Regions from separate parts of the Homo sapiens genome. Here region 1 is linked to region 2. Evidence: promoter capture Hi-C in human tissues and cell types (Jung and others, 2019). All regions are on one chromosome and are shown on one strand. Each heading gives the region's core, a stretch centred on a gene start or on the middle of the fragment in contact. The rest is flanking DNA. Distances are from core to core; before and after follow the strand shown. Region 1 overlaps DOCK3 (dedicator of cytokinesis 3). Region 2 holds the start of CISH (cytokine inducible SH2 containing protein).

Region 1 (6,305 bases), core at 1,237-3,736, 480 kb after region 2:
TAAGAACGCCTTTAAGTGGTTTTCCACCCTGGATGGGCCAGGTGTTCCTTGCCCTCATTCTAGTAAACCCACAACCTTCCAGTGTGGGCATCATGGCCATCATGAACATGTCGCAGTGCTGCACAGATTTTGTTTATGGCCAGTTTTGGGGCCAGTTTATGGCCAGATTTTAGGGTGTTCCCAGCAGTCCAAAATAAAGTCAGAAACAAAAAAGGATACATTGTGGCTGATGCCACAGAAGTACACAGGATCAGCCAGCATGGTGGCTCACTCCTGGAGTCCCAGCACTTTGGGAGGCCAAGGCAGGTGGATCACCTGAGGTCAGGAGTTCAAGACCAGACTGGCCAACATGGCAAAACCCCATGTCTACTAAAAATACAAAAATTAGCTGATCATGGTGGCACATATCTGTAATCCCAGCTACTCAGGAGGCTGAGGCAGGAGAATCACCTGAACCCAGGAGGTGGAGGTTGCAGTGAGCCAAGATTCTGCCACTGCACTCCAGCCTGGGCGACAGAGTGAGACTCATCCCAAAAACAAAACAAAACAAAACAAGGAATCATTAGAGACTACTATGAACAATTATATGCAAACATATTGGAAAACCTAGAGGAAATGGATTAATTCCTGGACACACACAATCTACCAAGATTGAATCATGAAGAAATGAAATGCTTGAATAGACCAGTAACAAGAAAAGAGATCAAATCAGTAATAAAAAGTCATTCAGCAAAGAAAACCCCAGAACTGTATGGCTCTACTGCTGAATTCTACCAAACTTATAAGGAAGAACTAACACAAGCTCTTTTCAAACTGTTCCAAAAAATTGAGGCAGAGAGAATTCATCCTAACTCATTCTATGAGACCAGCGTTACACATTACACTGATAGTAAGTCAGACAAGGACACAAGAAAAAAAAGATGGGCCAGTATCCTTGATGAACACAATAAATACAGACACAAAAATCCTCAGCAAAATACTAGCAAATTGAATCCAACAACATGTCAAAAAGATTATAAACCATAATCAAATGGAATTTATCCCAGTGATGCAAGCGTGGTTCAACATGTGCAAATCAATCAGTGTGATACATCACATTGACAGAATGAAGGACAAAAACAATATGATCATCTCAATAGTCACAGAAAAAGCATTTGATAAAATTTAACATCTTTTCCTGTTAAAAACTCTCAACAAGTTAGACATGGAAGGAAAATACCTCAGCATAAAAGCTGTATATGACACATCCACAGCTGACATCATACTGAATGAGGAAAAGCTGAAATACTTTCCTCTAAGACTGGAACAAGACAAAGATACCCACTTTTAATTCTCCTATTCAACATAGTACTTGAAGTCCTAGCCAGAGCAATCAAGCAAGAGAAAGAAATAAAAGGCATTTAAATTGGAAAGGTAGAAGTCAAATTGTTCCTCTTTGTAGATGATATAATCTTATATATAGAAAAACCTAAAGACTACTAAAAATCTCTTAGAACTGATATACTGATATACTTAGAACTCTTATACACTGTTGGTGGGAATGTAAATTAGTACAGCCACTATGGAAAACAGTATGAGACTTCCCAAAAAACAAAACAGAACCACCATTTGATCCAGCAGTCCTACTACTGGATATTTATCAAAAAGAAAGAAAAATCAGTATATAAATGAGACACCAGCACCCTTGTGTTTATTGCAGCACTGTTCACAATAGCCAAGATATAGAATTAATCTAAGTGTTTGTTAACAGATGAAAGGATGAAGAAAATGTGGCATATATGCACAATGGAATACTATTCTGCCATAAAAAGAATGAAATACTGTCATTTGTAGCAGCATGGATGGAACTAGAGGTCAATATGTTAAATGAAATAAGCCGGGCACAGAAAGACAAATATCTCATGTTCTATCATATGTAGGGGCTAAAAAACAAAAACAAAAACAAAAAAATGTGCATCTCTTGGAGATAGGGAATAAAAAAGTGGTTACCAAAGGTTGAGAATCGTGGGGTGGTGGGGTTGAAGAGAGGTTGCTCAGCAAATACAAACATCTAGTTAGAAGGAATAAGTTCTCGTGTTTGATAGCACAGTGGGGTGAGTGTAGTTAACAGTAATTTATTCTACATTTCAAAGTAGCTAGAAGAGAAGATTTGAAATGTTCCCAACAGAAAGAAATGATAAATGTTTGAGGCAATGAATATTCTAAATACCCTGATTTGATAATTATACATTGTATGCATGTATCAAAATATCACATGTACTTCATAAATATTTTAAAATATTATGTATCAATTTAAACATTTTTAAAAAATTGAAAACCTAGGATTCTCACTTCTGCACTTAGGTCCCTAACTTCTATATCATAGTGATGCTCATGTAATTTGAGCTTCACAATAACTTTGTAAGGAAGATAATACAGGCTCTTATCTGAATTTTATGTTCAGGAAAATGTCTCCTGGAGAGATTAAGTGATTTGTCTGAAATTTCACAGTCTTTGAGTGGCAAAGCTTGAATTAGAATCTGCTTCTTCTCATTTCAGCCAGCCAGCAGTAAAGGAACAGCATGGGGAAGTGTTTGGGAGGGAGCCCTTTATTGTTAAAGGCATCATTGTGGAAAGTCTGAAGAAGCTGGATCAGGCAGCTCAGAAAGTGGTACAGTATATGGAGAGGACAGTGGCAAAGCAAAAATTTAGTACCAGGCACCGACTTGTGACTTGTCTGTTAGTCAGATCTGGAAGGGCTCAGGTTTGAATCTGGATTTTGCCACTTTCTTGCTATGTGACCTTCAGCAAATTACGTCCATACTCTAAGCCTTAGTTGTCTCCACCAAATACGAATAACACTTATTTTACAAAGTTATCAGAATTAAATGAGATCATGAATATAAAAGGCATAGCAGACTGCCCAGCATATAGAAAGTTCTTAATAAAATTTAGTTTCTTTCCCGGTAGAGTTTATTTTTCTTTCCTTCTTTCCATAGCATTTATCTAGCCGGCAGAGTGTACAGCAAAGCACATCCCAGGTAAGCGGCTTTCCTGGGTCTTCCAGCCTTTCCCCTCAACTTTTTCTGTTAAGAGATTACAACATATGAATACACCAGGAAATGACAGACACCACTGACTTCTTGACTGTGTGGTGTCTTTATCTGAGGAGCTTTGACCTCTAAACAGTTTTGGCCAGACTCTACTTCTACTGTGCAGATTTGCATAAGCACAATTAAAGCAGACTGAAACTAAAATGAATCAGTCTGGGAGAAAATAAAAATGTTATTTAGAATGGTAACTATTACGAGGTAACAGTGTAAATCAAGCGCATTGGGGTCATAATGGCATTTCTTTAAAATGAGTTTGAAAATGGTTTTCCGGGCTGGGCGTGGTGGCTCATGCCTGTAATCCCAGCACATTGGGAGGCCAAGGCAGGTGGATCACCTGAAGTCAGGAGTTTGAGACCAGCCTGGTCAACATGGTGAAACCTACTAAAAATAAAAAAATTAGCTGGGCATGATGGTGGGTGCCTGTAATCCCAGCTACTCAGGAGGCTGAGGGAGGAGAATTGCTTGAACCCGGGAGTAGAGTGCAGTGAGCCGAGATCATGCTACTGCACTCCAGTCTGGGTGACAGAGTGAGACTCTGTCTCAAAAAAAAAAAAAAAAAAAAAAAGGAAAAAGAAAATGGTTTCCTGGAGAACTAAGATATTTGTCACCTGGTGGAGATTTTTAGTTCACTTGTAAGTTGGAATTACTGTCCCTATATTTCTTCACTGTTTACTCCTCCCAGCTGCTTGCTTGCCCACCTCAACCCAAGTCTGTTGATGCAGCATCCCCTACAAGCAGAGAAAACATCTTCAGTTTCTCAAATAATCTCCTTCAGTAGTGTGAAAAGAGTTTGTAATTTAGTTTCCACTTTTTAATGATCAATATAAAAAATAACTAAAATAAAAATCACTGGGTTTTTTTCTTCCTCATTAGGTAGATACAATGCGCCCACGTCATGGGGAAACATGTCGGATGCCAGTGCCACATCACTTCTTCCTCAGCCTGAAGAGTTTCACTTACAATACTATTGGGGAAGATACCGATGTCTTCTTTTCCTTATATGACATGAGGGAAGGCAAGCAGATCAGGTGAGAGTCACTGGAAATTCTGGTGAGGTTCTATGTTAGGATGGTATGGGTCATAGGCATCTCTGGCCATCAGAGAAGACAGATGCACAGAAGAGGCAAAACAAGATAAAGTAACCTCATCTCATTAGCTAGGAGTTTTGGCCCCAATTCCCTGTGTGCCCTTAAGTCACGTAAACCATACCATGGGTGGCTGCCTTTTTTATGACTTTTTCCACATAGAAGCTCAAAATCGAGTCTTGGCTATCACCACCTCACAGAGAGAAAAGGATGCATCTATTTAATACCACAAAAAAGGCATAGGAGAAACATAGAACCAAACAAATGCAGCAGAGACACACAGCTCCAGAGTGCAGGAAGCCCTGGGCCTTGGCTTGCTGCATGTGGAAGAGAGGGTTTGAAGAAAAAGGGGGCTGATGGTGTCTTGTCTGGGCAGCCCATGAAAGGAGAGCATCTTCTGAGTTTCTTTTATATTGCTTGGGAACTTCTTGTGTTAGGAGTGCTTTATGGCTTTTACTTGCTTTAGTACTTAAAATTCGAAAGCAGATTTTTCACTTTTCCAATTATATATTATATGTGGGAAAATTAGAAATGGAAGTTATAACAGAATGCAAAAGAAAAACAGTTAATTTATATGCCCCACAGTGCCTCTGATCTTGACAAAAATATTAATACACTATGCTTTACTTTGGCATAGGAATAAAATGATGCACCCATTGATCAGGACATGTGAATTTTCCTTATCACCAATGGCTCCTAGTATGTGCCCTTGGGAAAGTTATTGTAGAGAAGGTAGTAGTGGTATTGATGAAAGCTAAAACTGTTGCATGTAGGCAAGACTACAGGCCAGGGCTGTGTGGATATAGATTCTGGCTGCTCTTCTTTTCCTACTATCCAGATGTTTGTAAACTTTATTTGTGTGTGTGAGAGTGTGTATGTGTGTGTAAAAATCCTTTCTTCAAGCTACATTTTATGAAAAAGTCCAATATATGAAACAGATAAAACTATTCCATTATTGTGGCCCAGGAGCAATGGCTCACGACTGTAATGCCACCACTTTGGGAGGCCGAGGAGGGCGAATCACGAAGTCAGGAGTTTGAGACCAGCCTGACCAACATAGTGAAACCCCATCTCTACCAAAAATACAAAAAATTAGCTGGGCGTGGTGGCGGGCTCCTGTAAGCCCAGCTATTCAGGAGGCTGAGGCAGGAAAATCGCTTCAACCTGGGAGGCGGAGGTTGCACTGAGCCGGGATGGTGCCACTGCACTATAGCCCAGCTGACAGTGTGAGACTTGGTCTCAAAAAAAAAAAAAAAAAAAAGATGGATTGTTGGCAAGATGGCTGAATAGGAACAGCTCTGGTCTGCAGCTCCCAGCAAGATTGATGCAGAAGGCGGGTGATTTCTGCATTTCAGCCGAGGTACCCGGTTCATCTCACTGGGACTGGTTGGACAGTGGGTGCAGCCCATGGAGGGCAAGCCGAAGCAGGGTGGCGCATTGCCTCACCTGGGAAGTGCAAGGGGTTGGGGAATTTTCTCCCCTACCCAAGGGGAGCCATGAGGTACTGAGCCTGACGAACTGTGCACTCTGGCCCAGATAGTGCGCTTGTCCCATGGTCTTTGCAACCCGCAGACCAGGAGATTCCCTCTGGTGCCTAACACATCAGAGACCTGGGTTTCAAGCACAAAACTGGGTAGCTGTTTGAGCAGGCACCAAACTAGCTGCAGGAGTTTGTTTTTCTCCATAACCCATTGGCACCTGGAACGCCAGTGATACAGAACTGTTCACTCCTCTGGAAAGGGGTGCTGAAGCCAGGAAGCCAAGTGGTCTGGTTTGGCAGGTCCCACCCCCATGGAGCCCAGCAAACTAAAAGATTCACTGGCTTGAAATTCTCACTGCCAGCACAGCAGCAGACTGAGATCGACCTGGGATGCTCGAGCTTGGTTGGGGGAGGGACATCTGCCATTACTGAGGCTTGAGTAGGTGGTTTTATGCTCACGGTGTAAACAAAGCCGCTGGGAAGTTTGAACTGGGCGGAGCCCACTGCAGCTCAGTAAGGCTGCTGTGGCCAGACTGCCAGATTTCTCCTCTCTGGGCAGGGCATCTCTGAAAAAAAGGCAGCAGCCCCAGTCAGGGACTTATAGATAAAACCCCCATCTCCCTGGGACAGAGCACCTGGGGGAAGGAG
Region 2 (7,105 bases), core at 1,288-3,787:
TTCTCCCAGTGGAGGGTCTGGGGTGGACAGTGGCCTCTAAAGGCACTGGCAAGTCTCACCTCCTGTCAGTATGAGCTCCCACCAAGGGCAGGGACCTAATCCACACTCCAGTTCCCACCCTGGCAAGCCAGCCCTACCAGGCTCTACGATCTTGTACAAAGCTTGCTCTTCACTGGGCTTCAGTTTCCCTTTTCCGCAATAAAGGGTCCCACCAACCCATGCACTGAGAGGTTCAGTAACACCATATTCTTGGATGGCTGGGGTTGGGGGAACTGAGCCGACCAAAATCTGAGTAGCAGCTTTCTCCTAGGGGAAGCCCACCCAGCAGGGTGATACTAGGGCTTCCTCCTTGGGAGGGCAGCAGGGACTGGCTCTACTTCCCCAGGAAGACAGCTGCTCCTCCCTCACTCCTTGCAAAATACATCTCCAAGCCTTAGTTCTGGGTCTAGTCCCTGGCTGGGCCTCAGGACACCGCCATAATGAAACCATGGCCTTGCCCTCAAGGAGAACCAGACTGGCTGGGGAAGATGACACTAAGAGTAATTATAATGCAAAGTCATAAAACTGCAGGTGTCACGGGGGAGTCAGGGTCTGCTTGCTCCTGAGCTGTGTCTTCCAGGCCAAAGGAAGGAGCTGGGGGAAGGGACCCCAGGTAGAGAGGACAGCATGGGCAAACAGCGCCAGTATTGCTTGTGAGGCAGGAAGGCGCAGGCAGGAGCTGGTGGCAGGAGCCAGACCTGACTCCTGTGTAGGTTATAGGTGACCCTCTAGGTTCTAACAAATCATGGCCCTATGACCACTCACAGTGAGAAAGGGCCACACAACTCTGGCACACCACAGCCTGACAAAAACTTTTCCACACCTACCCTGGCTGTACTGTGGGATCTTGGAAATCCCTCTTGGAGAGCTGGAGGCCAAATTTTGAGATGACCTGCTTGCTGGGGCCCAGAGCTACCTTCCCAGGAGCATGGTTGGTGGCTAGCCAGTCAGGCTGGAACCTCTGTGGGTGGCCACGTCCAGATAGCTTAGCCGGTCCTCAGATCCCACATGTAGGTGTGGGCACCTTTGGGGCTGATGTGGTAGCTGGGTGTATGAATAGCTGTGTTGATCACCACAAGCTCCTGGTGAGTGTGTACCTGGGCAGGGGTGTGTCCATGGCTGTGTCATCATCATGGTGGGGACAGTGGCTGGTGTGTTCTAGGTACATGTGTGTGCCCGCTTTGGAGCGCAGCAGTCTAAAACTTTGTTCCCTGACACCCAACAGTAGCCCTGAGCTTACAAGGGGGTGCTCACCTAGGGTAAAAAGTGAAAGAGGCTATGGGACCCCGGAATGCAGGGGGAGGCTCCTGGGGTGGAAGGCAGTGGTGGGGCAGGTATTCAGGAGTCCCAGAATGCAGACAGGAGGAAGGAACTTGCTGGAGACAGCAAGGGAGAAGTAGTCTTCCCAGCACCTCCATGTCCTCTTCCTTGGCCTCACCTTCCACCCTCCCTCACTTGGCACCAGGCCAGTTGCGATAAGCACAGCCACCCAGTCCTCCCTGAGTGCAGAACACCCATTTATACCTTCTTCCTCTCTCCTTGGAGCTTCCTGAGCTCCTGTCACATCACCATGGCCAGCATCAGACCCTTTGGTTGAAGGGGTTGCTGAGGTTCAGGACAGAGTGGATGGCCAGGAATGCTCAGCTCAGGTCAAGACTCTGTCTTATCAGCATCCCCTCTCCACTGTCCCTTACCTCAAGTCTGGGAAATTTGAAGATGAGAGGCAGGAGCCAAGGTCCTTCTCACATTGGGATCCCAGACTGGGCTGAGACAGGGTTGTGAGACGATTGTGGGGGTACCCCAAGCAGGACCAGGCCAAACCCAGGGCCTCCCGAGAGTTGCAGACCATCAGGTGCCAGCCTGAGGAAAGGCAAGGATCTGCGGCTGGCTTCCCAAGAAGAGCCTACTTGCTAGCCTGGGGCAGGAGAGGGGACACCAGGACAGAGGGGGCCAGGGGCTGGTCCAAGGTTACTAGCAGGCAGGGCAGCAGGCAGGCTAGCGTAGAGTGCTCTGGGCCCAGAAGAATATCTGGGATTGTTGGCCACATCTTGGGGGACGCCGTGCCGTTAGCATCCATCTGCTCCAATGAGAACCCAGGCTGAGCCCACCCTGTGAGTTCCTCCTTTAGCCGGCCAGCCCCCGGTTTCCCAATCCACAGTGGGAATTGAGGTAAGTGTGTGGGGGCGGGGAGTGGGAGTGTCACAGCCCCACACAGAGCCTTGCTCCTGAGGTCCGTCTGCGCTCAGTCACCTCTGGCCCGTCAAGCCCTCCCAATGCCCGGCAGCTAGCACGAAGCCCCTGTTCTCCCGTGCGCCCCTCGTGGTGGCCGGGAAGGGGGCAGAGAGCCGCGCTTACCCCTGAACGCAGAGGACCATGTCCCCGCGGCAGCGGCGACTCCGGAGTGGGGACTCGGCTGGACGGCGGCGGCTGGAGGGAACCAGTGGGCGCGGAGCGCGTGCTGGGTAGGCTCCCGGGGCGCGCGGGCGCAGGACAGGGACTGAGAGGCAGTGGCGCGGACCGCCTGCGAGGGCGAGGGGGGCGGGCCAGACGAGCGGGGCGGGGCGAGCTGCTGCCTAATCCTTTGTCTGCCGCGTTCCAGCCCTTCCCGGAAGCAGCGTCTTCCTAGAACCGCGGGCTGAGCGGTGGGGCCCGGGCGGGGTGCGCGGGCCCCGTCGCCGGGTCTGGGGCCCTGAGCAGTGAAAGGAAATACTTTGACAGATTTCCAAGAACTTTCCAGGAAAACGGGGCGGGGCCCCGCGAGCTGACCAATCGCGACGCTGAAGGTGGAGCCGAGCGGTCGGGGAGGGCCAATAGCAGCGCGTGGACCCGGGGCTGAAGCTACCCAGAGGGGCAGGTCGGAGAGATCAGTGGGGAAAGACCGGGTCGGGGAAGTTAAGGAGGGGCCCGGGCTCAGCAACCCGCGCCCAGATTGCCTTCTGGCATTCTGCGTCGTTGGGGAAGGGCCCTCTTATCTCGCGGTGGAACTCGTGGCAGGGCGGGGGGCGGAGTCCCGGGCTTGTCCTCCCTGCGAGCGGCTCCTCCAAGGAGGTCTGTCGGCGTGTGCAAGCGCCCCGTGTTGGGACGGCCGCTCCTGGACCCTAGGACTCTGTGTGTCGGGTGTCGGATTGGGTGGCATGGGGTGAGATCTGGAGCGGGACTTAGGGCAGGGCGGGGTGCAGAGGACAGTTCCAGAAATGAGTGGGTCCACTGAGGTCAAGCCGGCGGTCACCACAGCCAGAAAGATCCAGACAAGAACGTTTTCTTTGAAAGAGTTGAAGGAGAAAGCACGCCCCAACTTTTCGAATCAGGCAGACCATCCAGTCTTGGCTGGCACTGGTTTCTGGCCGGCCCTGCCAGTCAGGGGAGAAGAGACTACAGATTTGAGAAAGCAAGCAGAGACAGCCCCAGATGGCCCGGACTCTGGGTTGGTACCACCCCCACCCCCCGCCAGAAAAAAAATGCTGAGAGAGAGTCCTGCAACTCAAAACATAGGGAGATAATCTGGGAGTAGGGTGATAGAGGTTGGGGCGGGATGGCGGGGGCAGAGTAGTAACACTCGCTCTTATCTACAGGGAGTACTTGCTGCATTTGATCCTCTACAACTGGTGTTGCTCCCGTTATGCGGACAGAAGACAGCCCCAGGGAACAAATGCTAGGAAATGGCAGGGTAAGAGCTTGGTCCCAGCTCTGAATCAGAAGCCCACGCTCCTACCAGGACCCTCTCCACCTTTTTTCAGTTCACTGGATTCACTATGGAGCATCTTGAAGGACTGTAGGGTCTGTGAATCTCCTCCAAACCCTTGGGCCAGAAGAACTGTGGGATTTGGAGAGGTTGCAGGGTCCACTCCCCACCCCCATCCCCCTCCCAGTGTGTGCCCCCAGGGTCCCCAGAAAGGAGTCTAGCTCTGAGATCCTGGGCAGGGATGACAGACCCCTGGCCTTGTTGAAGGGCCTGAACGATAGCATCCAGGGAAGACAGGGCTCAGTTTGCTCTGCCCAGAATGGCAGAGGGCAAAAGAAACCTGAAAGCAAAACCCTGTGAAACTGGGGAAAAAACGTTAAGTTTCAGATTTCAGGGCAGTCACTTCTCTGTAGCTTTCCTGAAGGGAAGCCGGGCTTCATGAGTGCAACTCTGCCAGCCCCCTCCTGAGTTGGCCAGAAGCCACTTTCTTGGAATGGGGGTAGGGGGGATGGATACCTTATAACCCACTTTGAGGGCTGGGATACCTGGATAGCCTGATATGCGGCCCCTGTGTGGACCACTGACTTGCCAGTAGGAACTGTCCACTGTCTCATTACTATGAAGACAAAAGGACTTTGCCGCTGCCAGGCAACAGAGTTACAATTTTGAACTTGGGTCTCTTATGGGGCCAAATCCCAAGCTCTCTACCAAAACTATACTTCTTCCCCCTCACCATGACTATTCAACTGAACACTTACTATGTGTCAAGCACTCTCAGCAATTTGCAGCCTCATGTCATTGTCACAACTACCACATATTATCTCCTCTTTACAGGTGAGAAAACTGAGGCATGGAGAGGTTACAATATAACTTAGATCTCCCAGCTGGCAAGTAATGGTTTAAGCCAGGAGCCTACACACTTCCTCCTACTTCCTCTATGGGTGCTGGTGATCTGCCGACTCCTAGACATCCAGCTTTAAGGTCCTCAGTGAAGCTTCTCTGCCCCCAGGCCTGTCCATGTCAGAGCACCATGGGTGTCCCTTTGAAAGTATCTCCTACAGGTCAGTGATTATGCAGTCTATGTGTAAACCAAAGGGTTCCAAGGGTTTTGGCCTTCCAACTATTTTTGTGTGTGTGTGAATATGACAGCACTGTGCACCTCACCTGCATGCTGGGAACAGTGATGTGCCCCTGTTCTGCCCCAAGTACTAAGTTGGGTCCCTCTGGCCAACTTAGTACTTAATTCTCCTGCCCTGGCTGCTCCCTAGAAACCCTGGCTCTGATTGCTGGGCCCACACTGCCACCTAGCGGTGCCCCCTCTCATGCCCTCACTAGCCAAATTTCCATAGATTCTTCTCTTCTAGGATAATCCCTCTCCTGCACCCCAGGGATTGAACTTACTGCAAGATTCCCCTGCCACTCCCTACCCAGAACAATCACAAGATGAATCACAAGAATACACAGCAGTGCCTTCCCAAAAGTCTCGCTCATTTGGCCTCCATCCTCTCACCATGTACAGCCTCCCCTCTCCAGTAAGGACAGAGTGTGTGTGTGTGTGTGTGTGTGTGTGTGTGTGTGTGTGTGTAGGATTTAGCCCCCCTCACTTTAAGCTATTCCAAAGTCTCTGTCCCCTTGGACACACAGCTACATGAAGGGCTGTGTGGCAGAGTCTGCCATCATGAACCCACTCCTGACCAGACCTAGCCATCCTGCATGCCAAATCCTCCCATCATTGTGGAGGGGATGCTGCAGGTGGTTGCTGGAACATGAGCACTAAGGGAAACCACATATTCTGACTTTCCTGGGCTAAGTGAGTAGTTTCAAGGCATCTCTCCGATGGACCCATGTGGGGAATGCGTGTGCCTGTGGAAGCATGGACACTGGTTATAGGGACTGGGAGGGGAGAAGCAGCACCTTTGCCTTACTTTTCATACTTCTGTATAATTTGAATTAATTACAATGAGGAAGTTTTACTTATGCAACTTAAAATTTTAATAAAAGAGACCAGCTTAAAAAATACAATTATAAAATTTGTAGAGCAATTATAATCTAATTCCATTTTAAAGAAAGAAGACATCTTCACAGAACATTCAGTGGGATGCCTTTGGCTGGGGCAAGGAGCCAGCCTCCACCCTCAGCTGCCTAGCCTTCTGCTCACCAGAATGACATCTTGCTCAGCCTCAGGTTCACCAGGCTCAAACTAGTTGCCTTCAGAGAGCAGAGAGCCTTCTTTGGCTCCCCCCAGCAGTAGAAGATTCCAGATCATAGGGCTTTCAAAGAGGCTCTGAGATCTTGAATCAGATTCTCAGGTTGGGCTCAGGGACATCAATCCTGGGTCCAGCTGGGCATAAATGCATGTGTGTGTGCACATGTGCATGTGTATCTGTGTGCATGTGTGTTATATGCATGTGTGTTTATACGTGTTATATGCATGTGTGTGCACATGTGTAAAGGTGTGACTGCATGTGTACATGTGTGAGAGTATGTTTGCACATGTGGCTGTGTGAGGAGCCAGAAAGGACTAGGAGAGGAGGCCATGGTTTGAGGATAAGAGCCCAGCCCTGAGGTTGTGCTTTGGAGTTGGAATGGGGGCTCTGTCATGACAGCTGCTGACCTCAGACAGGTCACTTAACCTCTCTGGGCTTTTCTGTCCTGTGTGTCTGTAGTGTGGGGCAGAAGGGATAGTGTGACCTCCTCTAGGCTCTGTAAGGTCAGGGGGTTGCAGGGAGAGCACATTCCCAGCATCTGGTCTGCAAGAAGTGTTCACTATGGCCAGCTGAGGCTATTGTCTGGAGCCTCCTGCTTCACTGAACACTGCTAGCTTGAAGGTTGCCTGAAAGAAATAGGGGCAGAGCCCCAACCCCATCTCCACTCAACATCTGCACACAGTGGGTACCCACTAATAAGTTGTAGCACCCTTTCAGTCACTCATTCACTCATTCATTGACAGAAGATCATCTTTCCAAGAGCTACTTCTCTGATGAGCCTGCACATGCAGCCCAGGGGTCCGTGAGTGTGCGTGTGTTAACCAGAGGGGCTGAGGGGGAGGCGCTCACTGGGCCTAAATTCCGGAGCCAAGAGTAGGATGGCTGGAAGACGCCTCTGAGTGGAACCGAGGTCCTGGTACCTGCAGTCCTGTAGATGGCCTGTAGATGACAGCAGAGGCCCATGCAGAGCCCCTGCGCTGAGCCGCACCTTCCCAGTTCCAAGTGAGCCAGCTCGCTCAGGTCCCTCAGCTTCCGGATTGGGGGAGTGATGTGATGTGCGCAAGTAGTTCAGATCTGTCCCAGAAGACAGCCACAGCCACCCTCCCTATGGCTCTAGACAAGTTGTTTTCTCCCCAGGGGTCCCAGTTTCCTCATCTGTGAAATGAGAGTTGCTTAA

What was found. Contacts are between HindIII fragments. The study calls those that stand out against the background at their distance.
Region 1: a contact is called between a fragment that was not itself captured here and the fragment with the promoter of CISH in region 2, in 1 of the 25 tissues and cell types used here (dorsolateral prefrontal cortex).

The regions. Positions count from the first base shown.
Region 1 is chr3:51,086,265-51,092,569 of GRCh38, forward strand. It overlaps DOCK3 (dedicator of cytokinesis 3), which reads left to right. Exons shown (of 53, transcript NM_004947.5): 8 at 2,979-3,020; 9 at 3,966-4,120. Among named protein-coding and RNA genes, the nearest start is that of MANF, 300 kb to the right of the region's middle. The HindIII fragment of the contact is 4,069 bases long and covers 453-4,521 here.
Region 2 is chr3:50,609,237-50,616,341 of GRCh38, forward strand. CISH (cytokine inducible SH2 containing protein) reads right to left here and starts at 2,538. Exons shown (of 3, transcript NM_145071.4): 1 at 2,395-2,538. The coding sequence starts at 2,414. It also overlaps a transcript of MAPKAPK3 not described here. RefSeq lists enhancers at 1,497-2,057, 2,967-3,056, 6,678-6,767 and a silencer at 2,407-2,886. The HindIII fragment of the contact is 7,054 bases long and covers 1-6,676 here.